Regions from separate parts of the Homo sapiens genome. Here region 2 is linked to region 1. Evidence: promoter capture Hi-C in 16 types of primary human blood cells and fetal thymus (Javierre and others, 2016). All regions are on one chromosome and are shown on one strand. Each heading gives the region's core, a stretch centred on a gene start or on the middle of the fragment in contact. The rest is flanking DNA. Distances are from core to core; before and after follow the strand shown. Region 1 holds the start of CLDND1 (claudin domain containing 1). Region 2 holds the start of TFG (trafficking from ER to golgi regulator).

Region 1 (7,191 bases), core at 626-3,125:
TTCAAGTGTGTTACCATGGTAGTCAGTTACTCTAATATCCAAGTTTGCTACCAAGTCAGTTACTCTCTCTAGTTCCTTTATCTGTAGACTGAAGTTGTTTCTTCTCTCTCCTTTAAACTTCTCTTTTGCCTGGTTTACTGACCACATGATCTCAGTGGAGAGGTAAATCTGAAAGTGGGGAATTTCTTTTTTTGAGGCAGAGTCTTGTTCTGTCGCCCAGGCTGGAGTGCAGTGGCGTGATCTTGGCTCACTGCAAGCTCCGCCTCCCGGGTTCATGCCATTCTCCTGCCTCAGCCTCCCAAGTAGCTGGGACCACAAGCGCCTACCAACACGCCTGGCTAATTTTTTTGTATTTTTAGTAGAGACGGGGTTTCACCGTGTTAGCCAGGATGGTCTCGATCTCCCGACCTCGTGATCTGCCGCCTCGGCCTCCCAAAGTGCTGGGATTACAGGCGTGAGCCACCATGCCCGGCGGAAAATAGGGGATTTCTAATGAAGGCCAATGGATGAAGACATTTCCTGGAGTATAAGGGCATTTATGTGTCTTACTACACATTGACAATTTGCCTGTGCCTCTCCATCACTTTCTCTAGTTGGTGCCTCTGACAAATTTTTTTTTGATTATATGCTGTATATGAAAATCCAGAGTCATGTTTGAATATATTTGGCTACTACCTTATTATGTGCTGCATATGAATATCAGTTTCACCCACTCAGGTCAAAGAAATGTAAGTACAGATAGAGAAACATATCATGCCTTTAATCTGTCAAAGTGGTAGAAATTTAATATCAACTTGCAGCTCCCATCTTTCTCCTATGCTAAATTACAAGGCATTAGGGGACAGAGTGGGGGTTTGAGAGCCCCTCTGGTCCTTGAGTCAGCTTTCTCTGTCGGTTACTGTTGAGAAATCCACCATTTGCTGGTCCCAGGCCACGTTAATAGTTCCACTCATGTTATTGTTAAGATGTCCCTGCTTCCTGTCCATGAATTTCTGTGTTAAACCTGAGGGTTCAGAATCATTGTTGCCCCTGTGCCACACATCATCTGCAATCTCCAATGCTGTCCATGACCTTATCTGCTTGAGTGATGTTCCCCAAATTTCAGTCTTTTTCCTACTATACCCACAATTTTTTATTCATTTTTTGACATATCTGGTATCCTCAGTATTATTAACTTAATAGTTTTTAAAATAAGTGAAAAGAATTTAAAAGGAACAACATTGCTGCAATAGAAAACTAGTATCACTTGTCATAAAAAGAAGGCAGCTACAAACACATTTTATGAAACCCAAATAATATCATTACATTCTTGATGGATACTGTCTGCCAGGTCACATACTTCTTAGCCTAAACTTATGCAATAAAACCAGAAGGATGCTCTGCTCCAATGGGAGGGATTCTGGGAGAGGGAAATAAAATGGGTCAACGTTTCACAAGTAGAATCCCATTTTTGTTCATTTATACTTAGATCTAGAGGCAGGGTGGTGTGATAGGGAAAGCACAGGCCTAAAAGTCAGATCTAAGTTATACAAGTCACGGTCATTGACTCGAGATGACCGGAAACAGGCCCGCTTTACTTTCTGGACCATTCTCCCTTCCTCCCTAAAATGCAAGAATCCAACAGCCTAGACTTCCCTTCTGCGTACCGGCTTGCCCTGAGGAGCTGAACTACATCTCCCACAATGCGCCGCGCGCGGCGCCAGGAATGCCTATCGCCGCCTCAGACAGCTTTCAGTCTGTCCCTCCTACAACTCCCACAAGGCCCCTCGGCCCCGGGCCGCGGCCCGGCCCGGAGTGGGGGCGGGCGGAGGCGCGGGAGTTATGGAGGGGGCGGGCTCTGCAGGGAAGTGCGTCAGAGGAGGCGCGGGGAGAGTAGGGTGCTGTGGTCTGAGCTAGAGGGTGAAGCTGGCGGAGCAGGAGGATGGGCGGTGAGTGAGCGGGACCTGCGTCGCCGGGCAGGGGTCGCGTCGCGGTTCCATGTTCCCGGCGGTTTGAAGAGGGGCCCCCTTCCCGGGCGTGGTCGGGCTGGGCGGGTTCCGAGCGGCGGATTTGTCCCAGGGCCGAGCCCTCTAGGGCGGGGCCTGGTCGGGTACCGGGGGACCCTGGCCCGGGGCCGAGCACGGCTGCCCCGCCCCAGCCCTGGCCTTCTCCGGCCCCGCCGTGAGGCCCAGGAGGTGGCTGCTGCAGGCGTCCGGCTTGGACGAACCGCCGTTCCCAGTGCTGGGACCCTTTAAGGTCATTTGAGAGCACCAGGATGAAGGGGGGATTTTTAAAAAATCAAAATACAAATCCAACTTTTTGAGTTTTCGTTGTCATTGCTCTTATCTTTCCTGAGTCACTTCCCATTTTCCAAACTCAGCAACCCCAGTTTGCGAGTCTGTTTTCATGAACCTTTGTAAGGTGTTTGGTGCGGTCACGGTGTATACTTGCCGTGTAGTATTTGACTCAGCGCGATCTGCCTTGAGTCATTTTACCGCGGCCATTTACTACTGCCGTTGAGCCCTGTCCACGCCTTGGGAGTGTTGATATGTTGAGAGTTTTCTGTCTGGCTGAGGAGGGATCATTTAGTTTTTGCGGACGTATGTTGCACTGAGGATTTAGGGAGAGAGCAAGATTTCTGTTGAGGAGGTTCAGAAGTATAAGGAATCGGGAGAGTAGATAGGAGTGAAGCATTTGGCAGCGTAAAGAAGCTTGGCTTAGCTTTAATGGATTAGGGAGAGATTGCTATCTAGCATTATTACATGTTATTGTTCTCTTTGCTATTTTATACACCTAGAACAACCTTTCCCTCGGGGTTAACAAACATCTTCAACTCTGTTTTCTGTATGGCTCCTGACTCTTACCTTTGTTTTAGGAGGCTTCCCTCTTCAGAGGAAACTGGGAGAAGCCAATTTCCACTGCTTCTTTTTCCTGTGCCTTTTTAACACTCAAACCCAGAACACTTAATCCTCTGCAGCTCGTGCAAAAATTCAGTCTGTAATTTAAAATGTGTGCACGGTACACTGCTGACCATGGGCATGTCTATTGTTTGTATCTGTAATGTGTATGTCCATTTCAGTGTTGTCTGTTTTAGTATGCAGGTGATAGACTAGAGAACAAGACCTCTGTCTCCGTAGCATCCTGGGTATGTGAGCATTCAATAAGTACTTTTATGAGAATGAGTTTTGTTTTAAGCTTAATTAAAAACATGCTTGCTTTCTAAAAAAAATTCTTAATGGTTATATGTACGAAGGGATGGGGAATTGGGTAAAGGGTGCATTTGGAATAATTCAAAATAATCTTTCTTATTTGTCCGTAAACTCTAACTTATCTTCTTTCTTCAACTTCTAAACAGAGCAGTCTGAATGCCAGAATGGATAACCGTTTTGCTACAGCATTTGTAATTGCTTGTGTGCTTAGCCTCATTTCCACCATCTACATGGCAGCCTCCATTGGCACAGACTTCTGGTATGAATATCGAAGTCCAGTTCAAGAAAATTCCAGTGATTTGAATAAAAGCATCTGGGATGAATTCATTAGTGATGAGGCAGATGAAAAGACTTATAATGATGCACTTTTTCGATACAATGGCACAGTGGGATTGTGGAGACGGTGTATCACCATACCCAAAAACATGCATTGGTATAGCCCACCAGAAAGGACAGGTATTTCTCTTATTTTAACTTCTGTCTTCTTCACCTGGTTAATAATAGACAAAACGACGTAATGATTGCCCAATTACATGTAAGCAGGTTTGTTGGTTCTCTCTCTCCTTAAAGAAATAAATCGTGTATCTTCTCTTTCTACTGCCTTCTCTCCCCAACTTCTTTGCATTACCATGGTACTCATCAATATTGGTTGGATGAGGAACTTTTCTTATCTTGGGAAAGCCTTAATGGCTTTTTTTTTTCTTATTTACTCACTCATTAAAATACTTTTCATTACTCTAACACATGTTATAAAGAAATAGTTGGAAAAGTACATCGAAAGACTTTTAAAAATATTTGGTAACTAGTAAAAGGACTACCATCGAAAATCAACTCAAAAAATTGTCCTTTTATGGGTTAGCTGTATTATAATACATATCTATCATTTGCCCCTGTGTCTTAGAGGATATAATTTGACCAGCTCTACATTTAATCTGTGTAATTATGAGACTGTTTTACAACAATCTTGATGCAGAGTTGGTAGGTTAAGAAATTTGTATTACAGAAGTTAAAAAAAAAAAACCAAAAACTAGATTTTTAGGTTTATTTTACAGGCATTCTTATTTAACACTTAAAGATTTTGATTTCCAGTTATTAAAATGGTAGCTTTAGAACTCTTTGTAAGGAACAACTTTACAGTTTATTTATGACTACTTCTGTTGGCCCCTTAGTGGGGAAGCATTGTATTCAAATCATAGCAGAACAGGCTTGAGTTATGATATATCAAAAGGATGATAATATGTCACTGTATCTGGAAAAAAAGATAATTTGGAAGGAAAGGAGAGAAAGTTGGTTAAAATTCATTGTAAAATGTTCAGTTTGACTTATGAGGTTACAGGAGCACTTGATATTGAAATTGGAGTTGGAATTGGAGTGTTACCATTTAGTCATTCATTAAACAAATAATTTATTGCATGTCTCCATGTTCCAGGGCCTCTTAGCTGGGAGAACATCAGGAAAGAACAAAATCCTTACTCCTGGGGAGCTAGCATTCTAATAAAGGATGACAGGCAGTGAACAGAATATAACAGTATAAACAGAATAAATAATTATTCAGTATGTTAAAAGATGACATGTGCTATGGCAAAATAGAACACAAAAGGGATTTGGAAATATGTGGGAAAAGGAATATTGGTGGCCATAGGTTATGATTTTCAATAGGATACTTAAAGTAGGTCTCATTGAGAAGACACCACTTGAGTAAAGAATGTAGTTAAAGACTAGACAAAAGAGTTGGCCATATGGGTAAATGGGGAGGAAGTCATTTAGGTTGGAAAGGACATCTACTGCAAAGGCTCTATGGCGGGAGCATGCCTGAAATATTCAAGGACCAGTAAGGAAGCCACTGGGCTGGAATGGAGGGAGAGACGGGAAGTTGGGTATGCTGTTAAAGACCTACTTTGGGAGTGGGACTGGGGCAAATCCTGGAGGACTCTAGGCAGAATGAGAACTTTGGTGTTGACTCCAGATACAGTGCTGAGCCCTGATCTGGTCACCCTGGCTGTTGTGAGAACAGAGGCAGCAGACAAAGGTGGAAACTAGAAGACTATGGTTAGGAGGTTATAGAAGTAATTCAGGTTAAGTGATGATTATGACTCACACCAGAATGGTAGCACTGAGCAGCAGCTGGATTCTGGACATAGTTTGAAGGAAGAATTCCTGGGATTTCCTGATGGAGTGTAAATGTACAAGAATTACTCTAAAGTTTCTGGTCTGAGGAACTGGAAGTGTGGATTTGGCATTCCCTGAGATGGGAATATGGTTGATAAAGCACGGTTGCATGAGAAGATCAACATTCCTATTTATTTCAGTCTTTGTTCCCTCCCCTTCTTCCTAGGCTTTCTACATAGCTATTCTGCCATTCATTTTACTGCTTCCACTTTATTTTTCTTCCTTGTGCCTATGTCTTCAGCCTGCCACTGAGAACCAGTGGCATCCATTGGACATCTATGAAACCTGTGTGTCAGTCAGGGCCAGAGAAGTTGCTGACCCCTCTGGAAACATCCTTTACTGTTTTACTTCAGAGAATAATTACTGAAAGAGATTTTTGTTAAATGTTTATAATTAAAACAACAGGCAATTGTTCTTGTTCCAGAGTCATTTGATGTGGTCACAAAATGTGTGAGTTTCACACTAACTGAGCAGTTCATGGAGAAATTTGTTGATCCCGGAAACCACAATAGCGGGATTGATCTCCTTAGGACCTGTGAGTACTTTGATTTCACCAGGACAGTTGGGGGAACAAAGATAATTTTATTTGTCTCTTTTTGGACTATGTTTTTGGAATAAGATGAGTTAGTAGATTGTGCCAACGTGAAATAAAATCTCTAACAGTATCCAGTGAACTCTATTCTGTTGATATTTTAGAAGGTAGATACATGCTTACCAAATTTCAAATGATTTGAAGTTGACAGGGCCAACTACTTCATTGGATGATGGGATCTAGACCTTCAAAAGATGTTATTAATGGGCCCATTTAGTAAAAGGAAATTTAGTTGAGATAACTTATACATTCCTATATTTGAATTAAACACTTTCCACTGCTTGAGTTCAGGTAAGTATATGTGAAAAAAGTTTACTGCAAGCTCTAAATGAGTCAGTGAGTTGTCAGGCCTGTCAAAAGTGTTTATCCAGTCTTAGGTGATAGTAACAAAAGGGTAGATGTCAAAAAAGATGAAAGTATTTATTAGGAACAACCTATTCCCTGATGGTCAGGCAGCCCATGAAATACTGTCTTCAGATTTGAGCCTCAGTTTTCAGGGCTATAGGGACTTGCCCAGAAGAATGACCATGTTGTAAGAGAAAAGGTTGAATAAGAGGTAGGTATTCAGTTTTATAAAGAGAATGTGTAGCAAGCAGTTTATTACTAGGAGAGTTTGAAAGAAAGTAAGTTAGAAAAACACATAAGAAGTTCCAGAAAGCAAAACCAGCACCAAAAGGTGTAAAGTTTAGTCAAGATTGATATGAATGCATTTCTAATAATGAATATTATTGGAAAATGGAATGGCATGTTTTGTGAGGTCATCAGGTTTTCTTCCCATGTTGATGAGAGATTTATGATAATTAAAACTACCTTTAGATTCTCTGCTTTGTGCTTTATATATATTCTTCAACAGCCCTATAAGACAGGTCATTTATAATTACCATTAATTTACTTGTTGTTACTGCCTTTAGATCATATAAAGACCTAGATATTGTTGGTAGGTAGAGTCAGACTGATTTTTGTATCAAATCCTGGCTCTACCACTTACTGTGTTATTTTTACAAGTTATTTATGACTCTTGCCTCAGTTTCCTTAATTACAAAATGGAATTAATAATAATACAGCTGTAGCTATGGGGGATTGGATTCAGGACCCCCTGCTAATTCCAAGGTTGCTAAAGTACCTTATATAAAATGGCATAATATTAGCATATAACCTACACAATCCTCCTGTATACTTTAAATCATCTTTAGATTGCTTATAATACCCAATACAATATAAATGCTATGTAAATAGTTGTTA
Region 2 (7,280 bases), core at 20-2,519, 2.2 Mb before region 1:
CCCTCTGAAGTCCAGAAATGACTCGGCTTCTAACTTGTATAATATAACCCTCTACCAGGTACACTTTTCTCAGCACTGGGAATAATCTGACACGCCCAAGGTCATATAAAAAGCCTGCCTCCTGAACCAGGTTCTAGGTTCGGCGGACAAACTTCTGGTTCTACTACCTCTAAGGGTAAGACCCTGCTCAATTTCAGAGGCTGTGGCTTAAGCACCTCCTGAGGGGAGCAGTTTCCTTCAAGAAATACTAAGCCAAGTCAACCTGTAATTATTCTAAAGAATGCCAAGAGGCCTCAAACCCTGCCTCAAAGGCAGTGCAGCAAGACGGTAAAGATTCTCACTACTAGCTATGTGATCTTAAGTCCTCCAAGGCTCACTTTCATCACATTCGAAATGAAAACAACCATATCTGAATTTGGAGGAATCCTTGTGATGATTAAATGAGACAGTGCATCCAAAATACTTACTGTAGTGTCCAGCAAAGCAAACTCTTAAAGTTAGCTAGAATCATCACTATAAACCAGGCTGGGCCTCCAGCCGGCGCTTGATTAAGCGCTGACTTAGCCAAGGAACTAGGCTCCGATTCTATGACCCCAATCAACTTATTCCCGTAGGCGCCACTCCACACCCTTCCGAGCTCCTTCGGGTATTGGGCGCCGGCCGCCCCAAACCTCCCAAAGCCCCTCTCCTCTCAATCCAAACGCTTGGAGGCAGGCTGCACCAAGGCATTAGCTGGCGCACTCCCCTCCCGGAGCCCCCCAGGCGCGCCTCCTGGCCACCGCAGCCAGGGGTTGCCTCTCTCCCCTCCCCCTCCGCGACCTCCCTTCCCCTCCCCCCATGCAAGGCCCCGCCCGCCCTCCCCCCCGGCCTCGTCCTCCCTCCCACCCCCTCCTCCCTCCCACCCCCTCCTCCCTCCAGCCCCTTCCCACAGTGCCTCCGACCCCAGCTGCCGCGCGGTTCGAACGAGGCCCTCCCAGCGCCTCCTAGTCTCCCGGCCTCCTCGGACAGAGCGCCCGCAACCCCCGTCTCCAGTGGCCATACCGGCTTGCGGAGGCCGCGGCCGCCGCCTCTCCGCAGGTCTCCGCTGAATGGGCGGACGCGAGGCCACTGGACTGGGGCGTCGCGGGGAGGCGGTGGTCACGGCCCCCTCGGTTGCCCTTCGCGACCGCCGCACCTCGCTCGCAGGCTCGCGCGGGCCCCGGCCAATCGCGCTGACCCAACAAGCCTAGCGAGAACTTGGGCTCTGTACGTGGCAGGTGGGGGAAGAACAGAGGCGGGAGCAAGAAAAAAAAAAATGTCCTTTCGCCCCTCCTTATTGCGCGTGGACATACCCAGGACGCATGCGCGACGGCGCGAGGCGCAGGGCTGGCTGGGTCCCGGCTGCCTAGGCCGAAGAGTCCCTGCTTTCTCACTGGATGACGGGATTTAGGAAGCGTGAGCTGCCCCGATGCACGCATGCGCGGGGCGTGACCACGCACTTCCGGTTTTCTCGAAAGCGGGTATTTCCGTTTCTCGCCAATGGGCGGGGCGTAGTGCGCTGTTCTAAACTTTTTGAGAGTTGGTTGCAGTAGACGTCTGTCCAACTTTAAGTGGTTTTTGTCGTTATTGTTGACCATTGTAGTAACAGCTGAAAAAGAAAAAACCTTTTCTTCTATAAATCCATTCATTCATTATTGGGAGCCTATGCTTTGCCAAGCCCGGTTCTAGGAATGGGGGTGAATCATTTTGTGAGCAAGGAGTTTCCAATTAAGCAGGGAAGACCTACAGCGTTTATGAGCAAGGAAAATCTGTAACTGTGTAAAGGACAAAAGCTGGGAAATTAAGGCTAAAGATTCCTGAGTGATTTTTAGAGGATAAGGCATTTGAGTGTGTCCTACGTACTCTTCCCTTCTCCCTTACCTGTTCAAATAGAAATACAGTATGAGTAAGTAGGAATTTATAGCCAAGGGGTGGAAGTCGGTCAGTGGATGGAAAATTACTAAGAGGAAATATCAGGGGCAAGGGAGATTCTGGCTAAACCAACACAACAGGATTCTAGACGAAGATAGGCCAGGATAGCAGACATCACCTGGGGGTGGTGGAGGATGAGGAACCCCATCAAGGGTGAGGGATTCTCACTACACTGCCTTAACAAGGTTCTTTGCTGAAACTGAGTTTTACAAGAAGATGCACAGATGGTCCTAGGAGAAGGCCCAGGAGCCCGAAGTTTGGCCAAACGGAGAATGTTTGTCACTTCTAAGGTGGAGACTAAGCTGATAAATAAAGCATTTAGACCCTACCTGGTCTCCAGTTGTTTACCAGTTATAAAAGAAAAACTTAAGCTGAATTAAATTTAAAGGAGTTTAATTGAGCAGTGAACGATTTCACGAATTGGGCAGCCCCCAGAATCACAGCAGATTAAGAGACTCCAGCAGAGCCACGTGGTGGAAGATTTATAGACAAAAAAAGGGAAATGAGGTACAGAAATTGGCAGTGAAGTACAGAAACAGCTGGATTGGTTACAGGTTGGCGTTGGCCTTATTTGAACACTTAGCAGTCTATGAGTGATTGAAGTGTGGCGGCTGGAATTGGCCAAGACTCGCTTATTGTAAGAGACGCATACTTCTAAGTTAGGTTTTCAATCTTGTCTGTTAAGCTAGGTTACAGTTCATCCACAAGGATTCAAGTATAGATGTATGGAGTCCTTCTCAGGCCATATTTAGTTTGCTTTAACACCAGATACTCCTAAAGGACCTGGAGTAAATTCTGGTGTTTCAGGGTGAGAAGCTACGTTCTTTTACAACCATAAGTAGTGTGATCTTTTTCAGTTATAAGTCTCTGAAACTTCTGTTTGAGAGTGAAATAATGTAAGTTTACACTGTTCACTTCTGATTTGTATTTTCCAACAGTTGTATTGACCTTTGAGCAATTGTTTGCAGGGATAAGGGAGTGGAGTACTGCAGAAGAAATGAAAAACAGTTCCTAATTGCTCTCCAAAGAATGTTATTCATTGCTTATTTTTTAAAACTGAATAATACAGATTTGGGGAGATGCACTGCTGTCAGATAATAGTATTATGATGTCATTAAGATGGTTTGGGATGGGGTAAAACCACAACCATATGGCAAAGGTAAAATATTCCCTGAAGGAAGTGAATTATACTACTGTTATAGTAGTATATTTAAACTAAAAAGAGGTCAGATCCTGAGGCAGGAGATAAGGAGGTGAACCTTGGCCTATTATAAGGTGAAAAGAGTATCTGCTGAGGATCCCCAGTGAGGGGGCACTCAAGAGTCCTGCTACTGAGGAGAAATAAGCTGGTCCCTGTTACACTGTGGTCATCTGTACGCTAGGAAGAGAGGCACCCATAAGCTGGCCTTGTGGAAAAGCTGGAGCTCATGGAGCTCATGGACTCCGAAAGCAACTTGAGGCTCTTTATGTTGTAATTTCCCTCATGCTTCATCCCGAAGCCATCAGTAAAGTCTTCTTTATGGTAAAGCCTATTCCCAGCTACTTCTGTGGAACTTGAGAGGTGGGGTTCTGGTGATTTCTCAAGTCGAAGCTGATGCACATCTATGTACTTAAGCTCCCAATAAATACAGGTGATATCTAGTGACAGAGCCATAACCTGAATTGAACCAGTTACCTCACTTACAAGAAGATGGGTCTCTTCTACTATGTCTGTAGATACATACTGGCCTTCTTTTCTGCATCTAGATGAATTTGGTTTTAAATGAACACTGAGCATAGTCTTGAACTAGAAAATACTACTCATTTCTTCCAAGGAACTGCTAAGAAAAAAAAGAAAAGAAAATACTGCTTAATGGTAGTATATTAAAGTTGAGGATATGTGAAGGAAGGAGAAGGAGTGCAAGGAAATATCTTTGACCCAGACTGTAGCAAGGAAAGATATGAGATTCTGCACTACACAGGTTATTTTCCATGTTTCATCTGAAGAAGGGTTAAGACTTACACTGTGATTTTAAGAGAAGGAGTCAACCAACCAACTTAGCTACCACCTGCTCTTTCTCCCTGAAAGTCTGTGTAGCTAAAACTCCTCACATGGAATGGGGGGAAAAAATCCTAAGAATGAAAACGGGATTCTCAGACTGGACAAGAAATGAGACAAAGACTATGAGCCCTGTTAGCAAGTTAGATAAAATCTATGTTTCATCATGTTCTTCTTTAGTACTTAGTATAAATCATTTTGAAAATTTGAGTCATCTTATATGTCCTCAGAAGAACAAAGGAAAGCGTGTACATTCCTCCTTGGATGAGAATTTCCAACGAGAAGTTATGTCCCTTGCCAAGAATCAGCTCTGTTGTGGCAGCAGCTAGCTAAAAAAAGAGAACTCCAAACAGAAGGGGAATCATGAGGACCAAACAGGAGCCAGCTAGTCAGCTCAGCCTCACCTTCACTGGCTAAATGTAAAGATTTGCTTGTGTGAACATAGGAAGCTGCCACCCTATGCAGAGATAATGAAGGAGAAAGGAACGATTTCTTACTTTGTACCTTTGAGTGAGTGATTCTTAGCACTAGCTAAGCAAAATACTTCAACCTGTCCTACCAGCTTCACATCCGTGAAATCCCTAAAATGCTTTTGCCTTACCATGATGCTCTATGTCCAATCTCTCTTTAGAGAAACTACTCTCAAAGGCAGTTCTTCCTAGATTTTGTATCACTAGAGGCTGATCTAGACATTCAATACATAGTTATTGAATAAAATAATGAAAACTAAGTTCCCCACCACTTTACAGGGCAAGCTCCCAGAAAAAACAAAAGGATCAGCTGTCAACGGGTAAGTTCCTAACTCCCTAGCCATGTAGGATTTGTCTCTTAGTAATTTGAAATCATTCACTTTTCTTCATTTACATCCCCTGGAGACAGTGCTAAGTTACCTCTCTGCTAAATTACCTGTCAGATTTCAAGTTGAAAGAGAAATGCAATTGTGAGCTGAATTGCATCCTTCCCCCAGAATTCATATATTGAACCACCTCAAAAGGTGACTGTATTTGGAGATGGATTCTTTAAAGAGGTGATTAAGTTAAAACGAGGTCATTGGGGTGAGCCCCTAATTCAGTATGACTGATGTCCTTATAAGAAGAGGAGATTAGGACACACAGAGAGAAACCAGAGATGGGTGCACACAGAGGCAAGGCCATGTGAAGATACATTAAGAAGGCAGCCTTCTGCAAGCCAAGGAGAGAGCCCTCAGAAGAAACCAAACTTACCAAATTTTTATTTCCAGCCTCCAGAACTATGAGAAAATAAATTTCTGATGTTTAAGCCACCCAGTCTGTGGTGTTTTGTTATGGTAGCCCTAGTAGACTCATACAAATGCCACAAGATGTGCAAGAAGATATAACTTTTCATTTGATCAAGAGTAGCTTTGTTAGGCTCATTTAAGAAACCTAGGCCCAATTAGCCGGGCATGGTGACATTCGCCTGTAATTCCAGATACTGGGGAGACTGAGACAGGAGAATTGCTTGAACCTGGGAGGTGGAGGTTGCAGTGAGCCAAGTTCGTGCCACTGCACTCCAGCCTGGGTGACAGAGCGAGACTCCAGCTCCAAAAGAAAGAAAGAAACCGAAGCCCAGTGTGGTGGCTCCTCATGCCTATAATCCCAGCACTTTGGGAGCCCAAGGCAGGATGATCACTTGACCCCAGAGTTTAAAACCAGCCTGGGCAATATAGTGAGACCCTGTCTCTACTAAAAATAAAAATCAAAAAAATTAGCCAGGCATAGTGGCATGTACGTGTAGTCTCAGCTACTTGGGAGGCTGAGGCAGGAGGATCCCTTGAGCCCAAGAAGGTCAAGGCTTCAGTGAGCCATGATCTCACGCCATTGCACTCCAGCCTGGGTGACAGAGTGAGACTCTCTCAAAAAAAAAAAAAAAAAAAAAAAAGAAGAAAAAGAAAAGTAAAAGAAACCTAGTTGCCAGAGTCTAGGAATCATGCATATCAGAGACAAAATCAAACTCTGGGTACTTGGAGACACTCATGTCTCTAATCTAACATTTATGCCAAGGATCCTGCTTTTAGTCCCTCCATATAAATGCATAATTAAACAGCATTCTCAAAAAGCCATTTCAATAAAGAGAGACTTATAATAAAAGATGCAAAGTAAAACCACAATGAGATACCATTTTTCATATATTCATCTGAGAAAAATAAAATAGTTACATAACACTTTGTAAAAAAAAAAAGTATGTGGCAAAATAGGCATTCATGCTTTGTTGTGGGGACATTAGTTTGTATCAACATCTAAAATGCCTTATGACACAACAATTTCATTTACAGTGTACCAGAGAAACGCTTGCACATAAGAGCACACCCATTGTTTTGTTTTCAAATGAAAGACTATAGAGCAATTAAAAGAAATGTACACATGCATACAGTTAGATATCAAAAACATTTTGATGAGTGCAAAAAGCAAGTTTTAGGAAGTTACGTTAGTGTGAAGAAAATAGTTAACATAGCAGCCTGAATCTGCTGTCCTCAGAAAGGCCCACTTGCAAGATTGGCCGTTGGCTGGTGTCTGAGAAATTGGATTTTAGGAGTGTTCTCATCCCATATTTGATAAGAATGGTGAACTGTGTCTAAACTGTTTGTACAATGTGATTTATGCAGAATACCTGCTTTCTTGAAGTCTAGAATTTTGGTACATGCCAGGCAGTGGGTGCCTATGTGACCAGGCCCCAATAAAAACCCTGATTAATGAATCTTTCATGAGATTTCCTGGTAGACAATATTTCACATGTTGTCACAGTTTGTTGCTGGAGAAATTAAGTGCATCACGTGTGACTCCACTGGAAGAGAACTCCTGGAAGTTTGCTCTGGTTTCCTCTGCACTTCTCCCCATGCAACGTTTTCCTTTGCTGGTTTTGCTTTATATCCCTTCGTAATAAATAATAGCTATGAATGTGAGTCTTTGCCGAATCTAATGAGTGCTTCTAGTGATTCATCAAACGTGGGAGTGGTCTTAGGGACCACTGACACAGTTCCTTATACCATTTATGTAAAAGAAAGTACACAAGACTATGAGTTGCTATGAGTGTATAATGTATGCACATATTTCTTTAAAATCTGAAAGTTTACACACAAAGCTCATTACAGTGGTTAATTCTGGGGAGAAGAGGAAAAAGACAAGAGGGGCTTGGATTTGGTGGTAATGGTCAAAGGGGACTTTAGCTCTATCTGGAACACTCTAATTTGTTCTTTGTTGTTGGGTTTTTTGTTTTTCTTTTAAGGAAAACATATTCATGTGTTTCTTAGATGAGAAAATATTTTAAGTTAATT

The links. The method cuts DNA at HindIII sites, captures the fragments that hold promoters and counts their contacts. A CHiCAGO score of 5 or more calls a contact.
Region 2: a contact is called between the fragment with the promoter of TFG here and the fragment with the promoter of CLDND1 in region 1, in 2 of 17 cell types (total B cells and naive B cells). The highest score is 12.1, in total B cells.

What each region holds. Positions count from the first base shown.
Region 1 is chr3:98,517,586-98,524,776 of GRCh38, reverse strand. CLDND1 (claudin domain containing 1) reads left to right here and starts at 1,875. Exons shown (of 5, transcript NM_001040181.2): 1 at 1,875-1,928; 2 at 3,335-3,644; 3 at 5,782-5,892. The coding sequence starts at 3,353. CLDND1-AS1 (CLDND1 antisense RNA 1) reads right to left here and starts at 2,207. Exons shown (of 2, transcript NR_198998.1): 1 at 1,944-2,207. RefSeq lists an enhancer at 297-426 and silencers at 1,629-2,268, 2,319-2,428. The HindIII fragment of the contact is 2,905 bases long and covers 1-2,692 here.
Region 2 is chr3:100,703,483-100,710,762 of GRCh38, reverse strand. It overlaps TFG (trafficking from ER to golgi regulator), which reads right to left and starts at 1,269. Exons shown (of 8, transcript NM_006070.6): 1 at 1,042-1,269. RefSeq lists enhancers at 1-809, 810-1,701 and a silencer at 943-1,172. The HindIII fragment of the contact is 12,148 bases long and covers 1-7,280 here.